Regions from separate parts of the Homo sapiens genome. Here all the other regions are linked to region 2. Evidence: promoter capture Hi-C in 16 types of primary human blood cells and fetal thymus (Javierre and others, 2016). All regions are on one chromosome and are shown on one strand. Each heading gives the region's core, a stretch centred on a gene start or on the middle of the fragment in contact. The rest is flanking DNA. Distances are from core to core; before and after follow the strand shown. Region 1 overlaps INPP5A (inositol polyphosphate-5-phosphatase A). Region 2 holds the start of LRRC27 (leucine rich repeat containing 27). Region 3 overlaps INPP5A (inositol polyphosphate-5-phosphatase A).

What was found. The method cuts DNA at HindIII sites, captures the fragments that hold promoters and counts their contacts. A CHiCAGO score of 5 or more calls a contact.
Region 1: a fragment that was not itself captured here is called in contact with the fragment with the promoter of LRRC27 in region 2 in 1 of 17 cell types (M0 macrophages); the score reaches 6.5 in M0 macrophages.
Region 3: a fragment that was not itself captured here is called in contact with the fragment with the promoter of LRRC27 in region 2 in 1 of 17 cell types (total CD4 T cells); the score reaches 5.1 in total CD4 T cells.

The regions. Positions count from the first base shown.
Region 1 is chr10:132,667,893-132,670,592 of GRCh38, reverse strand. The region is part of intron 4 of INPP5A (inositol polyphosphate-5-phosphatase A); the gene reads right to left. Among named protein-coding and RNA genes, the nearest start is that of NKX6-2, 120 kb to the left of the region's middle. The HindIII fragment of the contact is 927 bases long and covers 935-1,861 here.
Region 2 is chr10:132,330,830-132,333,529 of GRCh38, reverse strand. It overlaps LRRC27 (leucine rich repeat containing 27), which reads right to left and starts at 1,337. Exons shown (of 11, transcript NM_030626.3): 1 at 1,274-1,337; 2 at 1-53. The coding sequence starts at 5. It also overlaps a transcript of STK32C not described here. RefSeq lists a silencer at 1,516-1,635 and an enhancer at 1,520-2,054. The HindIII fragment of the contact is 6,954 bases long and covers 1-2,700 here.
Region 3 is chr10:132,618,164-132,620,863 of GRCh38, reverse strand. The region is part of intron 2 of INPP5A (inositol polyphosphate-5-phosphatase A); the gene reads right to left. Among named protein-coding and RNA genes, the nearest start is that of INPP5A, 82 kb to the right of the region's middle. The HindIII fragment of the contact is 1,626 bases long and covers 555-2,180 here.

The DNA.
Region 1 (2,700 bases), core at 149-2,648, 340 kb before region 2:
AGGTGTGCCCCAACCACTCTCCCCCCAGCAAGGAGGGGCTGACAGTGTCCTCCTGCTTCTGGGCCAGGGCTGTGCTGAGAAGCAAGCCAGCCAGGGGCTGGGGACTACAGCAGAGGAGAGGCTGAAGATGGGGGCTGTGGGGTGGTGTCAGGGGGTGTGGGGGTCAGGTGCGGGTTCTGGGAGTGCGCACTCAGAGGATGTAGGGTCAGGGGGTGTGAGGTCGGGGGGGTGGGGTCAGGTGCAGGTTCTGGGAGTGCACAGAGGATGTAGGGTCTGGGGTGTGGGGTCAGGTGTGGGTTCTGGGAGTATGCAGAGGATGTGGGGTCAGGGGTGTGGGGTCAGGGGGTGTGGGGTCAGGGGGTGTAGGGTCAGGGGGTGTGGGGTCGGGGGGGTGGGGTCAGGGGGTGTGGGGTCAGGTGCAGGTTCTGGGAGTGCGCAGTCAGAGGGTGTAGGGTCTTGGGGGTGGAGGCTGAGGGTGTGGGTTTCAGGACGTGGGGTTTAGGGATTGGAAGCTGAGGACATGGGGGCTGAGAACGTGTGCAGTGAGGGCATGGGGGCTGGGGGTGTGGGGTCAGTGGCTGCAGAGGGATTTTCTGCAAAGAGGTTGGTGACCCTGGGGACCCAAGAGAAGATAAGAGTTTGGACAAAAGAAAGACCTGAGAGGGCTAGAAGGGCTGTGCAGGGCTGCACCCTGAGGACAGAGAGGGAGCAGTCACCAGCGGGTCCTGGCTCCCTGGGGGCTCAGCAAGGCCACAGTGGGGACAGGGACACGGGAACAATGCCCTTCCAGAAACCCAGGTCCACGCTCACGCCAAAATCCCAATGGCATCTACCCACATCTCACTTGGAGCTGCACATCTAGAGTCCAGCACGAACCGCGCCCGCCCTCTCTGCCCATGGGGCACGCACAGGCAGGCCCCACATCCTCCAAGCTTGACCAAGTCACTGTCAGACTAAGGACACATGAATGGTGTCTGCAAGCACGTAAGAGAAGCAGAACCACTTTCAAGGACGCAGCTAAGCCAGGCTGAAATGTCACCGACGGTCCCCCAGGAGAACACGGGGCCTCCTCGAGCAGCTGTTTCTGCCCTGTCACTTGCCACTCCTCCACCACACCCCCAGCTCCCTCTCGTTCTGTGGTCCCGTGAGGACGTGCTACATAGAAAGCCTTGAGGTTAAGAATAGGAGCCTGCATTGTGCCCCTCAGAGTAGGCCACAGTGGGCACCAGGGAACCCGCCTCACAGGGAAGGCCTGGCCCGGCAACACCTGGCGCTCACGGGGCTACTTCCCAGCTTCACACAAGCTGGTGCTACTCACCGGCTGTTTGTTTGTTTATTTTGAGATGGAGTCTCACTCTGTCTCCAAGGCTGGAGTGCGGTGGCACGATGTCTGCTCACTGCAAGCTCCGCCTCCTGGGTTCACGCCATTCTCCTGCCTCAGCCTCCCGAGTAGCTGGGACTACAGGCGCCCACCACCACGCCTGGCTAATTTTTTGTATTTTTAGTAGAGACGGGGTTTCACCATGTTGGCAGAATGGTCTCTATCTCCTGACCTCGTGACCCACCCACCTCGGCCTCCCAAAATGCTGGGATTACAGGAGTGAGCCACCATGCCCGGCCTCACCGGCTGTTTCTTAACCTTCCTGTGTCTCCGGCACCCCAAAGATAAAGTGGGGAAATGATCCCCCAGAACAAAGCCTCACAAGCAGTACACGCTCAATAAACGCCAGCAGTGGTGGTCGTGCGATGGAGCTCGGCAGTTTTTAAAGAAAGCCACAGAAATGGACCAAACCCAGAGCACGGTCAACAGGGGCTGAAGCCCCCTGAGCTATTCAGAGAGGGGTGAAGTGGGCCGCAAGCTTTTAAATCCTACGGAAGAGAATAAAAACATCAGGAGGAATGATAAGCCCTTCTAATGCTCCCTGTGCAAATTCATGTTTAATTTGAGGAGAAATATCAACATTTTTTCATTTCCCTGATCATGCTTTAATTAAATCTCTAGCCCACTGTTTAAAATAAAGCCATTATGGATAGTGATCAAGAATTTCATCACTCCCTACTGAACTATAAAATCAATCACTTAACTTTTTATTATATAACCTCTGAAAAGTGAAACAGTTTGAGGTTACAGGATTTGAAGTGCTCTGATTTTCGCCAAAAGAAGTCCGTCAAATGTGCTTCTGAGAAACTCATGTTCTGCTTCATTTCCATATTTTTTCCATGGCAGCATCAATAAGTTACAGGGCGTCACTTTGCCCCCTAACCACCAACAGAAAGCCTCAACTGAAAGGAGGCCGAGGCCATCAGCCCATGGCAGGAACGTGAGGCTCTCGTGTCATTTCACCTAAGAAAGGATCAGTGACACCTGAGCCTGGGATCTGCCACTGGAATTTTCAAAAGTCAAGTGTGGGGCTGGGCTGCAGGAGCCCATTAGTCCCTCACCACCACACCAACCCTGCAAGGCCGGCAGACTCCAGTACACTCAAAAAACTGAATAACTTTGTTTAATGTTGCCTAGAAATAAGGAAAAATAACAAATACTTGTAAAAGTTACACTTGAAAGATCTCCACTCCAACTTATGTTCAATGTACTTAGCAAAAAGGTCAAAGCTCCGGAATTTGCTGGATAAATAAATGTTGGTGAGGCGGATGAATCACTGGAGAATTGGTGCATGGCGGCGAATGAATAACCTGCAAATG
Region 2 (2,700 bases), core at 88-2,587:
TCCATCCGTTCTCTTCCAGGGACAGCAGCTCATCCTCCTTGGTCTGGAGTCACCTGGAGACACGGGAAAGGGAAACGTAGAAGCAACTAATTATACCGAGGCAAAACAGAATAGCTGTGTGGCAGATCTACTGTAATGTAACTTGCTTTAAAAGCTATCATTTTTCCTAAGCAGTAGCAAAAATTTGACTTTTAAACATGTAAAAAAAAAAAAAAGGAATACAAAGAGGTTCAGATTAAAATTCTCTGCTCTCACTTTGTACAATGGAGTTCCAAGATTTAACTCCTGGAAAACGCAAAGGCGCACAATAGTAATGATCATTTTAGGGATGTAAACAGATCGGAACATTTCAAAGCCTGTAAATCAACTGCAACGCTTCCATGAAATGACTAGGGGCGGGTGGAAATTTGCACTGTTTCTTACCTCTGGTGTGGTTCTGTGCCATTTGAACTATGTTTTTAGTTTCTTGAGGCCAGGAAGCCTGTCTTTTGTTTACCATTTTGACCCAGTGACCAGAACTAAGTCTGGCTTACACCCAGTTAAGCACCGGGGAAAAACCTGTTAAATTAATCTCGAATTTTCGTTGTCCAGCAACACTTTTACTCAGAAGTATTGTTCACCAAAATCTCATTCAGCGAGGCACACTTCCACTTGCAATTTCCAAACAATTTATTCGGCAATAAGAATCAACGTTGGAATGCATCAGTTCACCTAATTCAAGTCACTCAACAGCCCAATGATTGGCATATGAGGCGCAGATCAGTTAGGGAACTGTTCCAGGGGCGCAGTTAATTGGGGGGTAGAGGCGACACCGGGACCCAGCAGGGTTCAACCCCAGGCAGCCTGCATTCCATGGAAGCCCGCGGGCTTTTTCACGGTCAGTTCACTTGTTTTCTCCGAATCACGGAACTTAAAACAGAGGAGGGGAGGCTTCAAACCTCAGAACAGGGAAAGTATCTTAAAACCAGAAGTGAAACAACAGCCTGGACTCACACAGGGCCCAGGCAGCGCAGGCTCCGTGGGGTTTCCGAGGCTGCCTTCAAGGGATCCCCACGCACGCCCACCCCCGCTCCCTGCCTCGATTTCCCCATCCGGGCGAGGCTGAGTTGGGTCCGACGCTCTGGGCCTCACATTCCAGGCCTCAGAAGGGCAGCCTTTGCGGTCAGCATCGCGGCTGGAGCTAGGCGACAGGGCACGACGGGCCGAGGCACCACCTTCCTGCCGCCGCCCGCCTCGAGGGCTCAGCGAGCTGGCCGTACCCGCCCCGTCTCACCTGCCGCGTCCCCGCCCACTGAAGCGCTGGCGAGCCCCGCCGCTGAGAGCAGCAGCCCGACAATGGAGGCCACCCAGCCAACGCGGTCGCCATGGAGACGCCGGTACGGAATCCCGCAGGCGCCACGCTGAGCGCGAGTGTGTCTGTGATGCGCCTGCGCGAGGGGTGTGGTGCGCCTGCGCGCGGGGGTGTGCGTGTTGTGGGGGTTTGTGCCTGCGTGCGGGGGCGGGGTGTGGGTGCCCCTGCGCGGCAGGGGGTCGGGTGTGGTGCGCCTGCCCGGGAGGGGGCGGGGTGTGGTGCGCCTGCGCTGGGGCGGGGGGTTGCGCTTGCGGTGGGGGGGTTGTGGTGCGCCTGCGCGGGGGTGGCAGGGGGTGGTGCGCCTGCGCACGCACGCGGCCAACGGTAGCATCCGTTTTTCCGCGCCCGCGGCCTTGAAGGGGTGGTGGTCGACGGGCAAGTAGAGACCGCGAGGGTCTGGAGGGGCGACCGGCCTGGCACAGAGGGGAAGGAAGAGAGCGGGATGCTAAGTGCCGTCTGGGGAGCCGGAGGGCCCGGGGCGGGCGGGGCTGCTCGAGGACAGCCGAGCAGAAAAGAATTGCTGCTGAGGCACCACCTTTGGAGCGGTCCTCGCTGCCTGTCCTTCCCGCTGGGCTCACTCCCCGCGTCTCTCCTGGGGCTTCCTGGAGCCACTTCCCACAGGAGCTGCTTGTCCCCAAATCTTGCCTCAGGACTTGCTGCCAGGGGAACGCAGACTCAGAGCGTCCTCTTTGGAGAAGTAAGGCTGCCTCTGGACGGAGGAGTGAGGGGGGCGAGGAAACGCAGTGAGTGTCCTGAGGAAGGGTTTTGAGAATTTGGAAGAAGATGAAATGACACCGGGCGGGAGGGGAGGTGCTCGCGTGGTCCTGTGGAACCCTGGAGTCCCGTGCACCTTCATTCCAGGATCCAACTGATAATGAAAAGTAGCACCCTCTGTCCCACCCAGAAACACTCTGGAAACCCGGACAGTTTAGCTGGAGTCTGCCATGATTTCACTTTTTTTTTTTTTTTTTTTTTTTTGAGGTGGAGTCTTGCTTTGTCTCCCAGGCTGGAGTGCAGTAGCGCGATCTCGGCCCACTGCGACCTCCGCCTCCCAGGTTCAAGCAATTCTCCTGCCTCAGCCTCCCCAGTAGCTGGGACTACAGGCGCGCGCCACCACGTCCAGCTAATTTTTGTATTTTTAGTAGAGACGGGGTTTCATCATGTTGGCCAGGCTGGTCTCGATCTCCTGACCTCATGATCCGCCCCCCTCGGCCTCCCAAAGTGCTGGGATTACAGGCATGAGCCACCGTGCCCGGCCTGATTCCACTTTTTAAAGGAAACGACATAATTATGTGGAGAAACGACTATCCACTTTGAGGGGATTTACGTTTTATTTTTGTGAAGAGATC
Region 3 (2,700 bases), core at 118-2,617, 290 kb before region 2:
AGAATAATTCAAAAAGTATCATCTGTGACTCAGTCTTCTTCTAAAGGCTCTGTAGAATTTCTGTTGTTTCTTGTTTAAATATAGAATTCACCAGGGAAGCCATCTGGGCTGGGAGGGTTTTTGTGGAAAGGTAATGGGCAAATTTTTAATTGAATAGATATAGGACTATTGAGTTCATTATTTCTTCTTGATACTTTTGTTTTTCAAAAAAAAAAGTTTCTTTCATATAAAATTTCAAGTTTATTGGCATAAATTATATTAATATTCCCATAACCCATGATATGCTTTAGCAAAGAACTTGGCTGCATTCTGTTTATGCTCTAGAGATCAATGGAAATTTGAAGCAAAGAGTGATGATTTAGGGTATCTGATGGAAGAAATTTCTAAGCAGCAAAGTGCTCAAGAAAGATGTGGCCTGGCTGCTTCTAACAGCCTACACTCAGATGTGGGAGCAAAGAAATGACTTACAGTTGGAACTTACATTTAAAAGGGAAGCAGAGCACAAAAGTTTGAAAACTTTGCAGCCTGGCCACATAGCAAAGAAAGAAAAAGCTTTCTCAGGAAAGAAAATCAAAAAGGCTGTAAAGCAACCACTTGCTAGAGATATTTGCATAACTAAAAAGGAGTCGAGTGCCAACAGACGAGACAATGACAAAAAGGCCTTGAAGGCATTTCAGAGACCTTTGCAGCAGCTCCTCCTGTCACAGGTCCTGAGGCCTAGGAGGAAAGAATGGTTTCATGGGTCAGGCCCAGGACCCTGCTGTCCTGTGCAGCTTCAGGTCAGTGCTCCCCACATCTAGGTTGTTCCAGCTCCAGCCTCAGCTCAAAGGGCCCCAGACACAGCCCAGGCTGCCATTTTGAAAAATGCAGGTGTTAAGCCTGTAGGTGCACAGAATGCAAGAGTGAAGAATGCTGGCAAAGTGCAGTGGCTCACACCTGTAATCCCAGCACCTGAGGTGGGTGAATCACTTGAGGTCAGGAGTTCAAGACAAGCCTGGCCAATATGGTGAAACCCTGTCTCTACTAAAAATACAAAAATTAGCCAGGTGTGGTGGTACATGACTGTAATCCCAGCTACTCAGGAGGCTGAGGCAGGAGAATCATTTGAACCTGGGAGACTGAAGTTGCAGTGAGCTGAGATCATGCCATTGCACTCCAGCCTGGGTAACAGGATGTATAAGAAAACCCAGGTGCCCAGGCAAAAGCCTGCTGCAGGGGTGCAGCCCTCACAGAACCTCTATAGGGGCAGTGTCAAGGGAAAATGTGGGGTTAAAGCTCCCACAGAGAGTCCCCAGCAGTGCACTGCATAGTGGATCTGTGAGCAGGGGGCCACCATCCTCCAGATCCCAAAATGGTATATCCACTGGCAGCTTGTACCCTGTGCCTGGAAAAGCCACAGGCATTCAACTCCAACCCATGAGAGCAGTCCTGGGGGCTGAACCCTGCAAAGCCACAGGGGCAGAGCTGGTCAAGGCCATAGAAGCCCACCCCTTGAGCCTGTGTGCCCTGAGTGTGGGACATAGACTCTGAGGAGATGATTTTGGAGCTTTAAGATTTAATAGCCGCCCTACTGGGTTTCAAACTCGCCTGGGGGCTATAGCCCATTTCTTTTGGCTTATTTCTCCCTTTTGAAGCAGAAATGTTTACCCAATACCTATATCCCCATTGTATCTTGGGAGAAAATAACTTGTTTTTGATTTTGCAGGTTCATAGGTGGAAAGGACATGCCTTGTCTCAGAGAAGTCATCAGACATGGGACTTCTGAGGTGAGTCAAGACTTTGGGGGGACTATTGAGAAGGGATGATTGTATTTTGAAATGTGAGAAGAACATGAGATCTGGGAGGGGCTGGGGCAGAATGATACAGTTTGTATATTTGTCCCCGGCCAAATCTCATGTTGAAATGTGTCCCCAGTGTTAGAGGAGGAACCTGGTGGGAGGTGTTTGGATCATGGGGGCAGATGCCTCCTGAATGGACTGGGCCATCCCCTTGGTGATAAGTGAGTTCTTACTCTTGAGTTCACATGAGGTCTGGTCATTTGAAGGTGTGTGCACTTCATCCCCACTCGCTCTCTCTTGCTCTGGCTTTCACTGTGTGGCATGGCTACTCCCCCTTTGCCTTCTGCCTGACTGAAAATTCCATGAGGCCTCCAAGGGCTGAGCAGGTGCCAGCACTAAGCTTCCTGCACATCCTGCGAACCGTGAGCGAATTAAACCTCTTTCCCTCATAAATTACCCAGTCTCGGGTATTTCTTTACAGCAAAGCAAGAATGGCCTAATACACTCTTCTTCCATGTTAGCTGGAAACAGACACTGCCTATCACATCATTCTTAAAATTACCATCAGGAAAAACTGTGAAAGACTTTAAAATGAGCAATAATGAGAGTGCCTCCATTTAGCTCACCTATTTGGGTTATCTCTACCTTTAGTTGTCTCTGAGCTATGTTGCAACTCTGTGAGTTTAAAAGCTGATGATGATGGAAATGATTCTTGACCACAGAAATGCACAATGTCCAGCAGATGTGATGGATCATGACCCTGTGGACAGTGCCAGCCTTGCATCCGTGAAGCACACTCATGTCAGTACTGCTGATGGGAGAAGCTATTTGCCTACATTCTGGATTCTTCCCTGAACCAGTTCTACATCTTACTGGGTCTCTCCCTGATAAATAAACAACATTTATTATCTCAATTTAAAAC